Linked DNA regions of Homo sapiens: region 1 is linked to region 2. Evidence: promoter capture Hi-C in 16 types of primary human blood cells and fetal thymus (Javierre and others, 2016). All regions are on one chromosome and are shown on one strand. The core of a region is centred on a gene start or on the middle of the fragment in contact, and the rest is flanking DNA. Distances in the headings are between cores, read along the strand shown.

The links. The method cuts DNA at HindIII sites, captures the fragments that hold promoters and counts their contacts. A CHiCAGO score of 5 or more calls a contact.
Region 1: a fragment that was not itself captured here is called in contact with the fragment with the promoter of ILDR2 in region 2 in 1 of 17 cell types (total CD8 T cells); the score reaches 5.3 in total CD8 T cells.

What each region holds. Positions count from the first base shown.
Region 1 is chr1:167,382,549-167,388,317 of GRCh38, forward strand. It overlaps POU2F1 (POU class 2 homeobox 1), which reads left to right. Exons shown (of 16, transcript NM_002697.4): 8 at 1,309-1,403. Among named protein-coding and RNA genes, the nearest start is that of CD247, 130 kb to the right of the region's middle. The HindIII fragment of the contact is 864 bases long and covers 3,246-4,109 here.
Region 2 is chr1:166,972,209-166,977,739 of GRCh38, forward strand. ILDR2 (immunoglobulin like domain containing receptor 2) reads right to left here and starts at 3,332. Exons shown (of 10, transcript NM_199351.3): 1 at 3,015-3,332. The coding sequence starts at 3,060. LOC124904449 (a long non-coding RNA gene) reads left to right here. Exons shown (of 3, transcript XR_007066714.1): 3 at 63-539. It also overlaps a transcript of MAEL not described here. RefSeq lists silencers at 3,182-3,231, 3,292-3,581, 3,702-3,751. The HindIII fragment of the contact is 7,595 bases long and covers 1,852-5,531 here.

The DNA.
Region 1 (5,769 bases), core at 2,428-4,927, 410 kb after region 2:
CAGCATTTTAATTGGGAAATAATAAGATTATAAAGATCACCCTAACTATTATATGGAGATTGAACTATAGGGAGACACTTGGGGAAGGAGGATGGTCATTTAAACTTCCATAAACCTGCCTTTTAAGAAATGTTTGTAGTAATATATGCTGAATTTTATTTAATCATATTTGCTTCAATATATATTTCACTTGTCCCAGATCAGCAAAAGTCAGGGTTCTTTAGAAAAATTCAAATCTATTTAATATATTTATCTTATTTGTGACCTACATTATGAAATAAATATTAGTATCTTTTGATAGCTTAAATTTAGGCAGTGCTTAGTTACTTATAAATAAGTGATAAATTCTATGGCTAATCTCTGGCAGGCTTAAGTGTTCTGGCTGTTGTCCTACATATTACAACATTTAATATATCCAAATTTAGTAACCTAATGAAATCATAATTAGGAAGCTATTGCCTCAGATAATCTTATCACATATTCAAAAGAAAATGGTAAAATCCCTTTTGTTTGGTGTGCTTTGTCGAATACTTTCTACCATTGCTCTTATCACAGCAAACATAATCTTGTATTTAGTATTTTAGCAACAGCATTTTATCTGAAACTCTTTACTTAAACTCTTTACTCTGTATTTAAGATTAAATCCTTAAATACAGACATTCTGGGTTGGTCCTGTCTATCAGTTTCTGAAAATAAAAAGCCATGTATTCAAGTAATTGAGCATCTTCTACAAACAAAGAGTTTGTATTTCTACTTTGAATGTCAGTTTGTCATCATGAAGCATTGGTGGCATTACATTATCAATTATTTGAAACTAAGACAGTTCAGTGTTCATGCAGATATTAATAGAATATTTTACATTTCAACTTTATTATCACCAACAGGCAAATGTTTGATAAAGAGAACTTGAAAATGCTTCTTTTCCTCTGGTCCAACATACGCTGGCAGTTTCTAATGGATTCTAGGTTAAGAAGTTGAGCTCTTTTTGGAATTTCCAGCTGTTTCTATTTAGAATAGTTTTTTAACTTTCATCCCATTCTTTCCTAAAATAAAGGATTGACCTATCACAGAGCTTATTCAGATTATGCCAAAGACATATCAGTTTTAATTTAATGTTGTATATCTTCTCTTCCAAGTTGTAAAACAAGATTGAATGTAAGGCAAATAAGATAAATAAGAGTTTTGATACCAGTAAGACTACCAGAGATCAACTGGAAATTTTCAGCTCATTTTCTGATTCTTTCTTTCTTTTGCCATGTGTTCGAAGAAATCTTTAATGTTTCTGGATAACATGTTTTTCTTCTACAGGTCTCCTGCAAGCGCAAAATCTTCTAACGCAACTACCTCAGCAAAGCCAAGCCAACCTCCTACAGTCGCAGCCAAGCATCACCCTCACCTCCCAGGTCAGTTTTCTTCTATGGGGGCTGCTTTCTCTTATCATATTGTTTGGGGAGACTTTTGGACTTTATTTAATTTTTTTTTTAAATCTAATAAAAATAATTCGGTCTTCGAAAACTGACCAGAAAATCAAAGCTAGGCTTATCAGCTCAATGCTACCAAATCAATATAGTCTTTGAAAATCTTCAGAGTTCCTGTTTCTTATATGTTCTTAAAGAATAACTGCATTAGCAGTAAATGAGTAATGAGTTCTAGCTATGTGACATCTCCCCTCACCATACTTGGCGGTAGATATTACCACTTAAACTGGAAACCTAGTGAGCCTCAGTTAAAAATCCATTGTTACCCTTTACCCTTTCTCAGAAACTGCTAAGAGATTTTGATCTCTATATTTTCTTTTTTCTCAATGCTTTTATGGTGCTTTAGCTCATTTCTACTAGACCATATAAACACTATAATTATATTAAAAAAATTTAGACATATAAAGGTTTAAATTATAGACCTGATTCCACTTCTTATCTAGCTGTTGCTTTGAACATGTCATTTTATCTCTCTGGACCTCAGTCTTCTCATCTATAAATTAGGTGACTGAACTGGCTGATCCTGAATCTCCTTCCAGCTCTGACTTTCTTTGTCTGCAGTATGGAAGTTATCACTTAATACTAACACATTACCAGATTTGACAGAATTCAGCATCCATTTATGATAAGAACTCTTGCAAACTAGATATAGAAGGTAACTTTCTTAACCTGGTAAAGAGCATGTATTAAGAAAAAAAAAAGAAAAGAAAAAAACCAACATCATACTTCACGAAAAACTGAATACTTTCCCCCTAAGATCAGAAACAAGGCAAAGTGACCAGTTGCCACTTTTATTCCACATTATACTCAAGGTGCCAGTAATGCAATAAGACAATAAAATAAAATATTAATAAATGACATACAGATTAGAAAGGAAGAAGTAAAACTATCTTAGTTGCTAGATGACATGATTGTCTATGTAGAAAATCTTAAGGAATCTACCAAAAAAAGCTACTGGAATAAGTGAGCTTAGCAAGTATGATACAAACTCAATATATAAAAATCATTTACATTTCTATACACTAGCAGTGAGCATTTGGAAATTGAAATTAAGAAAAAGAAATTTACAGTACTTAGGGGTAAACAACAAAATATTTGTAAGGCCTATACAAATAGTTCTATAGTTGAAAACTATAGAACATTGCTGCATAAAATTAAAGACCTATAAAATAGAAAGAAGTAATATGTTCATGAATCAGAAGACTTAAGTTAAATGTTAAAATGTCAGTTTTTCCCAAATTGACCTCTAGATTCAACAGTCTCAACCAATACCTAGCAGGCTTTTTTGTAGAAATTTGCATACTGTTTCTAACATTTATATAGAACTGTAGAAAACACAGAATAACCAAACGATTTTGAGAAGAAAATTGAAGGACTACTGATGTCAAGAATAATTATAAAACTCAAGTAATGAAGACAGTGTAATACTGGCATATGGATAGAAATAGAGATCAGTGGAACAGAATAGAAGGTCCAGTAGATCCACATGTATATGGCCAACTGATTTGCCAAAGGTGCCAAAGGATTTCAATGGGAAAAAAAAAGTCATTCAAAAAATGCAGCTGAAACAATAGGGAAAAAAAATAAAAAACCTTGACTATTATTTCACACCATGTACAAAGATTTGTTTGATGGGTCATAGACCTAAACTTAGAGAAAAAAGCTTGGAAAAAAATCTTTGTGTCCTTGGGTTAGGCAAGGATTTCTTAAATAGGACACAAAAAGCACCATAAAATAATGGATAAATTTAATTTCATAAAAATCAAAAGCTTCTCTCAAGTGAATGAAAAGAAAACCACAGATGGGGAGAAAATATTTATGAAACATATCTGATAAAACATTTGTGTTCAGAATGTCTAAAGAACTCATTCAAGTTAATAATAAGACAATCTGATTTAAAGGAATGGGCAGCAAAAAAATTGGAGATACGTCACCAAAGATGATATGTAAATGTCCAGCAGGCATATGAAAAGATGCTCAAAAACCGTTAGTGATCAGGAAAATTTAAATGAAATATCACTACACAGTCACTAGAATAAGCAAAATTTAAAAGGCTATGACAAAACCAAGTGTTGGCAAGAAGGTAAAGCGACTAGAGTTCTCATACATTGCTTAGTGGTGTTGCAAAATGGTATACACACTTTGGAAATTATTTTGGCAGTTTCTTTTTGGGGGGGTGAGGGGGAGGCAAGGTCTTGCTCTGTCACCCAGGCTGGAGTGCAGTGGCACAATCACAGCCCACTCTAGCAGCCTGACCTCCCAAGCTCAAGCAATCCTCCCGCATCAGCCTCCTGAGTAGCTGGGACTACAGGCGTGCATCACCATGCCCAGCTATTTTTTGTAGAGATGGGGTTTCGCCATGTTGCCTAGGCTGGTCTTGAACCCCTGGGCTCAAGCAATCTGCGTGTCTTGGCCTCCCAAAGTGTTGAGATGACAGGCGTGAGCCACCGCACCAGGCTGGCAGTTTCTTATAAAATTAAATGTGCATGTACCTTGTGACCCAGCAGTTCTGTCCCTAGAAATGAAAGCATACGTCCACACAAAGACTTGTATGTGAATGTTTCTAGCAGCTTTATTCACCTCAAACTGGAAACAACCTAAATATACATCAGCTGGTGACTAGGTAACATAAGCTTTAGCATATCCATATGATGGAATGCTACTTTGCAGTAAAAAGAAACGTGCTTCTGATACATGCATCTCCTGTGAATCTCAAAAGCATTATACTACATGAAAGAAGACATAAAAGACTGCATACAGTATGATTCAATGCACATGGCATTTTAGAAAAGACAAAACTAAGGTACATAAAACATATTAGTGGTTGCCAGGGACGGGGGGCTAATGGTGGGGATTAACTGCAAAGGGAACAAGGGAACTTTTGGGAGTGATGAGAATGTTCTGTATCTACTACTATCTGTAGTAACTGCTACTGCAATTAGTAGCAGTTGTATGACTGTAGTTGCTGAAACATATACTTTGCCCTTTTAAATGGTGAATTTGTGAATATGCTGAATGCAAGAGTGAGGTTGGGATTTTGAAAAAAGCCTATACCAGAGACTTCTTCCTGGCCTCCGTTCTCTGCATATGGTGGCAGGGCCGTTGTGGCTTCATCCTGACTCCTGCTCACTGAATTCTACTCTGCCATTTCTAGATCTGGCCCAGTCCAGCCTGAGGTTTCTGGAGCTGGGGTAACTTATCTGTAACCACCCCATCTAAAGGTACCCAAGCGATTTTTAGTCCTTTATTATTTGAGAATGGGGCTACTTCAGGCCCGGAGATGAAGTAACAATGTGATAGTTAAGACTCACCTGTAACTGTCAACCAGTTTCGCTGTGAGAAATGTACAGCTACATAGGGGTCTGCTATGGTTGGTGCTCGTTTTGGCTCCTCCAAAATGGTCAGGTTGAAAATTACGCAGTGTCAGCATGACATAGAAATGAACTTTGTTATTGTCATTGAAACAGGATAAGAGAGGAACTTAACTCCAGTTGTCGCCTGTGTAATGCTTATTCTGTAGTTTTCTGGGACAGTTAGTTCCTTTGGAGGAAGCCTTGACTCATAAGGTAAAGGTCAGGCTTATATAACTCATCTAAATTTGAAGAAGAAAAATTCACAGCCACAGACTTTATCTGTAATTCTGGTTTATAATCGCTCACCTGGGCTACTCTTCACAGGAGGAGTCAACTGAGCAACTAAGATGCAGTCAGGCAGTGCCTCCCACTAGTGAGGTGTGTTCCACTCAGGGCTTGTGAATAGAACAGAATAACCTTAAGTTTGTGTGATAAGAAAGTAGAGTATTTTATTTTTAAAAAGAGACTATACCCTCATGTCCCAAAATAAACTATACATGGATTTAAATAATCAAATATTCAACAAAGAAGAAGCTAGCAGATTAAAAGGAATTTTATCAATGTTAGAAATAAGTGAAGCTTTCTCAGATTTGAAGTAACAGGATATATTAGAAAGGAAAATTAAAAGCTCACCCAAATGACAATTTAAAGGTTTATGTACCCTGAAAAATAAAAGGAAGAAAGCAAATTGGAAAAGCATTTGCATTAATATGACAAAGCTTCCTTTATAAAATTTGAGGATCTCTCTAAGGATAAGGATGAGAATAAATATCATTAATATATAAATTGGTTAAGGACGTAAATCCAATTCACATTCAAAGAAATACAGATAATAATTGACACATGGGAAAATTTTGACATTGAGTAGTAAGAGAAATACAAATTAAAGCAGCAGGGAACTACCATTTACTTCTTGAATTAGCAAAACATTTTTTAAA
Region 2 (5,531 bases), core at 2,082-4,581:
CTCTCAAAAAAAAAAAAGAAAAGAAAAAGAAATGCTAATTCATCAAGCAATCTTTGTCATAGAGATACCCAAAGAAGCCTCCAGGAAAACACATCGCTTGCTCCAGGAGTGTGTTCCCAGAGTGTCGACACAGCTCCAGCGTTTCTCACAGCCTCTGCTGCCAGGAAAGGATAAAACACCACCCATATTCAGGAACAAAGACAGAGTGAACCCTCCTTCAAGTCTTATTGCTAGATGGCACCTGTTGCTAAAATAGCAGCTGGTAAGCATTTTGTTTTGTTCAAAATAACAACAACAACAGCAACAATAACAAAACCAATATATTACAGGAAGCAACATCACAATGGCAATAAGGAATCACAAGGCTAAATATATAACAGGAAGACATACAGAATTTTAGTAATGAAAGACAAGGAAGAAGCTGCTAGAGCCTGGAGGAAAAAACTGAAGTGCTGATTAGAAATCGCTCAGCTTGCATTAAAAAAGAGAAACAGGAGGAGAAGGGAGAGGAGGAGAAATAGAGAGGGAGTGGGAGAGAGATGGTGGGGAGAGAAAGGGAGGGAGAGGAAGAATGAATGTGGTTTTTTTCCTGGCTCTCTGTCTCATTTTTAATCTGTTCTTCCCTGTCTCCCTTCCTTTCTACCACCCCCTCAAAAGAGAATTCATTGATTGGGCTGGACTAAAATTTCTCACCTTTCGTCTCATGGTTCTCTGTGAAGAATGAGTCTGAATTCATCTCCTCCTTGTCTGCTTCTGTCTCCTCCCTCCCCTCCCCAGCCGCCATTGTTTGCTCCTCTACTTTGCTGAGGCTGAGAGGCAGCTTGTCTGTCCACACCTCTGACAGCAGTGATGGGATGAGGAGAAAGCAGGAGCAGGGAGCAGAGGATGATCAATGGGATCCCAGGAGTCAGTCTCACTTTTGGAGCAAAGAATCCCCAGCCATCTGACAGCTGAGCTGGTCCTGATAACTAACCTGTTGCCTGATTCCAAGCAGAACAGCCTCTCCAGGTGCAGGTGGCAGAAGGCACAGACAAAGCCATCACCTCCCTCAAAACAAAAATAAAACAAAAAGCCCTCCAGCAAAAAGCCCAGAGAGGCAGCTTAGGAGAGGGCAAATGAGACTGGTCTGGAGTTTGAGAGAACTGGAATCTAGTCCCTAATCAATCATGAACGTGCTATGTGCATATTGCCTCTCTAGGACTCCATCTCTATAAACTGAGAGGGCTGAACTACAGTTCCTGTAGTACCCTCCAGTGATATGATTCCATTTCATAAAAAGCTGTGAGCCATCTAAAGAGAGCTCTATGTTTCCCTTCTTCTCTCACTCCCTGCAAACCCCCAGAGTACTTCTTTTAGGCAGACCCCAGCGTGTCTGTAAAGAGCACCTCTGACTCAGGGACCCCTCCCCCCCCCCCCCGATGCCTGGCTGACTTCAGTGCTGTTGTGATACAGGCTCAAGGACTAAGTGCCCTGAGAATATTGATAACCGAGAGTAGAGGCAGATTAAGGATGTGAAGAATCAGTGAGGGTGGGAGTGGAAGGCACTGGGAGGCCAGGGGAGCGGGGTGGCATGGATCAGCCAAACCCTGAAATTAGAGATGATTCATATCTGAATAATGTGGGAGGGATGAACTCAAAGCAGCCAAAAGAAGAGGCTAACTCTGCTGAGGATGCCTCCCCCAGCCTAAACCCAGCAGTGGGGCAACGGCAATGTTAGGGGCATTTCATTTGAAATGGGAAAAATATTTAGGCAATGAAGAATCTTATTCTGAAGCTAAGGGAAATGGGGTATTTGCCTTTTCTTGCTAAATGTATTTTACCCCCTTTACATGACTTGTTTTAGCTATTTTAAGCTTGTTCCCCTTTGCCTAGTGCCTTGATTTTGTCCAGATCTTCTGGCTGGTGATGCTAGAGGTGACAAAACTTCTCATGTGGTACTATTGTCCCTTTTCTCTCCTGCCTTCCACCCCCATCCTGTCCTCACCTTTCTGATCCCTTTTTCCATTTCTTCCATCATTCTGCCTCCACCTTGATTTGAATGGTTGCCTCTGACCCAGTCCAAGCTATCCAGACATTCCTCACCCCCATCCTACTCCCTTCAGCAGGGCTGCTTTGTGAATCTCTCAGGGCTGGCCACCCCAAGGCCCTGTATCCCTATGGGAATCGGAATCCTCATGTGGGGAAATAGGTTAAGAACAAGAGCATCTACTGACCCCAGCAGAATGGGGAGAAAGTTCACCAAAAAGGAGGGGAGGGCACAGAGGACCCAGCTAGACCAGTGACTTTGATGCTGGGGAGAAGCCCAATGCCTCTAAATCTCTCTGCAAATTATCTTTTAGGGAGCGGAGAGTGCACCTATTAGAAAGGCTCTTCTGCTTTCTAATTATCATTTGGGACCACTCCCCAAATGATACCAAGTAAGAGAGAGCCAGGCTCTAAACTCCACAACCAGTGAAGGTTCCATCCCCATCTTCTTCCCAACCTCCAGTTCCTTGCACCCTCCAGAGAGCCACAGAGAGAATGCCCTGGGTCCCCCTCCTTCTCTAGGGAAGAAATTAAGGAGACAGTCCTCTAGCCTCCACCTCCAGAAAACCAGTTCATTTAATTAATCAGCTCCCTCTGAGCTTCCTTTATTCCAGCCAGGCTTTTCACAAGACTCACAGCATTACAAACTCAGGATAAGACCGAAGGAGAACCGTTTTATGGAGGGGAAATGCATTCGAAAGAACAACCTCAGCGCCAATGAGTCAAACACCTGCATCTAGATGCGTCTCACTTGTCATTGGGCTTCTCCCCCGCCGCCCCCATCATTCTCTCTCTCTCTCTCTCACACACACACACACAAACACATACACAAACACACACGTTGCCCCCTCCCCCACTTTCCACCAGACCGCTAAGCAGCTTTAAACATGGTCAGTAAGGAGGAAAATGGGGGGGCGGGGGGCGCGGTGAGAACAGAACCACTACAGGAATATACAAAGTTATTCGTTTCTGTTGAAAAGGACTCTTACCTGTTAGCCAGAAGAGAGAAATCCACCTCAGCAAGACCCTATCCATCTTCCCCAACTTCCCAGCCGAATTACGGAGTGAGGAAAGTGGGAAATGGCTGGAACAGAAGGATCGCTGTCACCCCGCGGCAGCGGGCGGCGGCGGAGCGGCGGGCACCGGGCGTCCCTGGGCGCAGCGCCCGCCGGGCCGGCCGCGCAGGCGGGGCCGGGGGCTGGATCGCGCCGCCGGCTGAGCGCGCGCTGCCGCGGGCTTCCGGGGTCCGCGCAGCGCTCGGCGGCGCATCCGCATGCCCAGGCAGCGCGGCACGGGGCGAGCGTCTCCCCGCCGCAGAGCCCGCCGCGCGGGGGAGCTCGGCCGCCGCACCGCCTCCCGCGCCTCCGCCCCGCCGCCCGCTGCCGCGACTGCCAAAGTTTCTCGGTCACGTGCTGGCCCCCGGCGGCCCAAAGGTCAGCGTGGAGTGATTGAGGCCACGCGGAGAGAGGGGGTCTCTGGGTGGCAGGCAGCGAGAGGCGCGGGGGAGGCCGCCCCGCGGGCCGCGCCGAGCGGGGAGCGACCATCGCGGCTTCTCCCAGGGACGCCCGCGCTCGGGAACCCGGGCGAGAACGCTGGCTGGGGACTCGAGCAGGGGAGCCTGTGTCTGCGGGCAGCCACAGCCAACCTGAACGGGGAGAGAGTGACAGCGGCGAGGGTGGGGGACGGCGGGGACTTGGCGTAACTTCTTACAGGACTTAACTAGCAAGTCCTCTAGGCTAGAATGTTCGCTTCTGCGGTACCCCCGCCCCTCCGTCTGGTTTCCTTTTTGACAGTGCAAGGAACCAGGCAAGAGGCTCCGCAGAATTGAAAAAGGTAGGCGGGAATCTCGCGTCATTACTTTTTCCTGTTAAAATATGAGGTAGAATAAGGGCATCCGGCCCTTTAACAGAAAATATGTAAAACCAGAATGAGATAAATGATTATAACGGCTTAAATCCATCCAACACTTTATAGATTCCAGCACGCATTCACATGGATTATTCCTATTTGTCAGACGGATTTGTCTTGTGTCTCAAAATGTATGTGTTGAGAGAGAACTGAGAAATGTATGATTTGCTTAAGAAATATATTTATGAAGCCTCTACTAGGTGCTAAGAACTAAGGTTACAAAGTGGAATGAGATAGACTTCCTGCCCTTAGGAGCCTCATCTTGGGTCGAGGAAAGGGAGGAAGGTCAGACCATTAAAGACATGATACTTATTCCTAGTAAAACGGGGCAAGTGCAATAATGGAGACATAGAGAAAGTGCCTTGGGAACATAGAGGAAGGACTAAGTTAGTCGTGGGTGGGGAGGGGGCACCACGATAAAGGAGGGGTAACATCTGAGCTGGCATTTGCAGAAAGCACAAGATTTGAGCCATTCAAGGATCCCTGGTGGAAAGGGGGCAGGCGAGGGCATTCTGGGCAGAGGAAAGAGACATAGCAGAAAGGTCTCAAGTAGCATCTGAAAACAGAGTGGTGCCAGGCTGGAGGGGAGTTCCTGGAGCAGACAGACTCCACACCTAAGAGTGAATGTGTACACAGACAGGGAGAATATGTATGTGAACATGTGAGAAATGGGAAGAATAGACCCTGGGCAGCTGTCTTTTATGGCTGCCTGACATCTCAATTCCCTTCTTATTCTGAGAAATTCCAACTGCAGAAGCCAGAAAGTCTAGAGCCACCTCCCTGACCATCCCAGCTGGAATGCAGGCCCGGGCCCCTGGCATAGCCAGGCTGACCTCTCCCTCAGAGCTTTTTGATTCTGGAGCAAGTGGTGGATATAAGAAACAAGGACAGTGGAGAATTGATTTTGTCACTGAGGCAGCAGCAGCATCCAGTGTACATGATCAGCTGTGGCAGAGGTCAAGCCACCAGGATGCTCCAAGGTGTGATTTTTGGCTGTGGTCTTGCAGGCTCTCTGGGTTCTAGCCTCTCTTCTACACTTGGCTCTTCACTTCCCCAGCAATTCTTTGAGCCACCCAATATCCTTTCATAAACTCTTTCTTTGCTTATTTTGGCCAGGATGATTTTTTCATGCTATGTACTGCATGAGAGAAATTTGAGGACTATTTCCTTTCATATACAGAAAAATAAAAATATAGGAGGTACCTAACACTTGTGGGTTTCCTTTAGGTTCTAGGCAGAGTTCTACATGTTTAACAAACCTTCTCATTTAACCCTAAAGAGGGAACTTAGGCCCAGAGCATTTAACTAACTTCTCTAAGATCAGGCAACTAGTAAGTGGCAGAGCTAGGATTTGAATCTGACTCTAAAGCATATACTGTTTGCACCACAAAAAGAACATCTACACCAGAAGATTGAGATGATATATTTGTATTATGCTGTGCCATTTACTGCATCTATGTGTGTGTGTCACAGTGCACAAAAGAGCTTGAATAGTGTTTATTATCTAAGCACACATAACAGTGGCATTTTGGCCAGGTGCAGTGGCTCACACCTGTAATCTCAGCACTTCGGGAAGCTGAGGTGGGCGGATTGCTTGA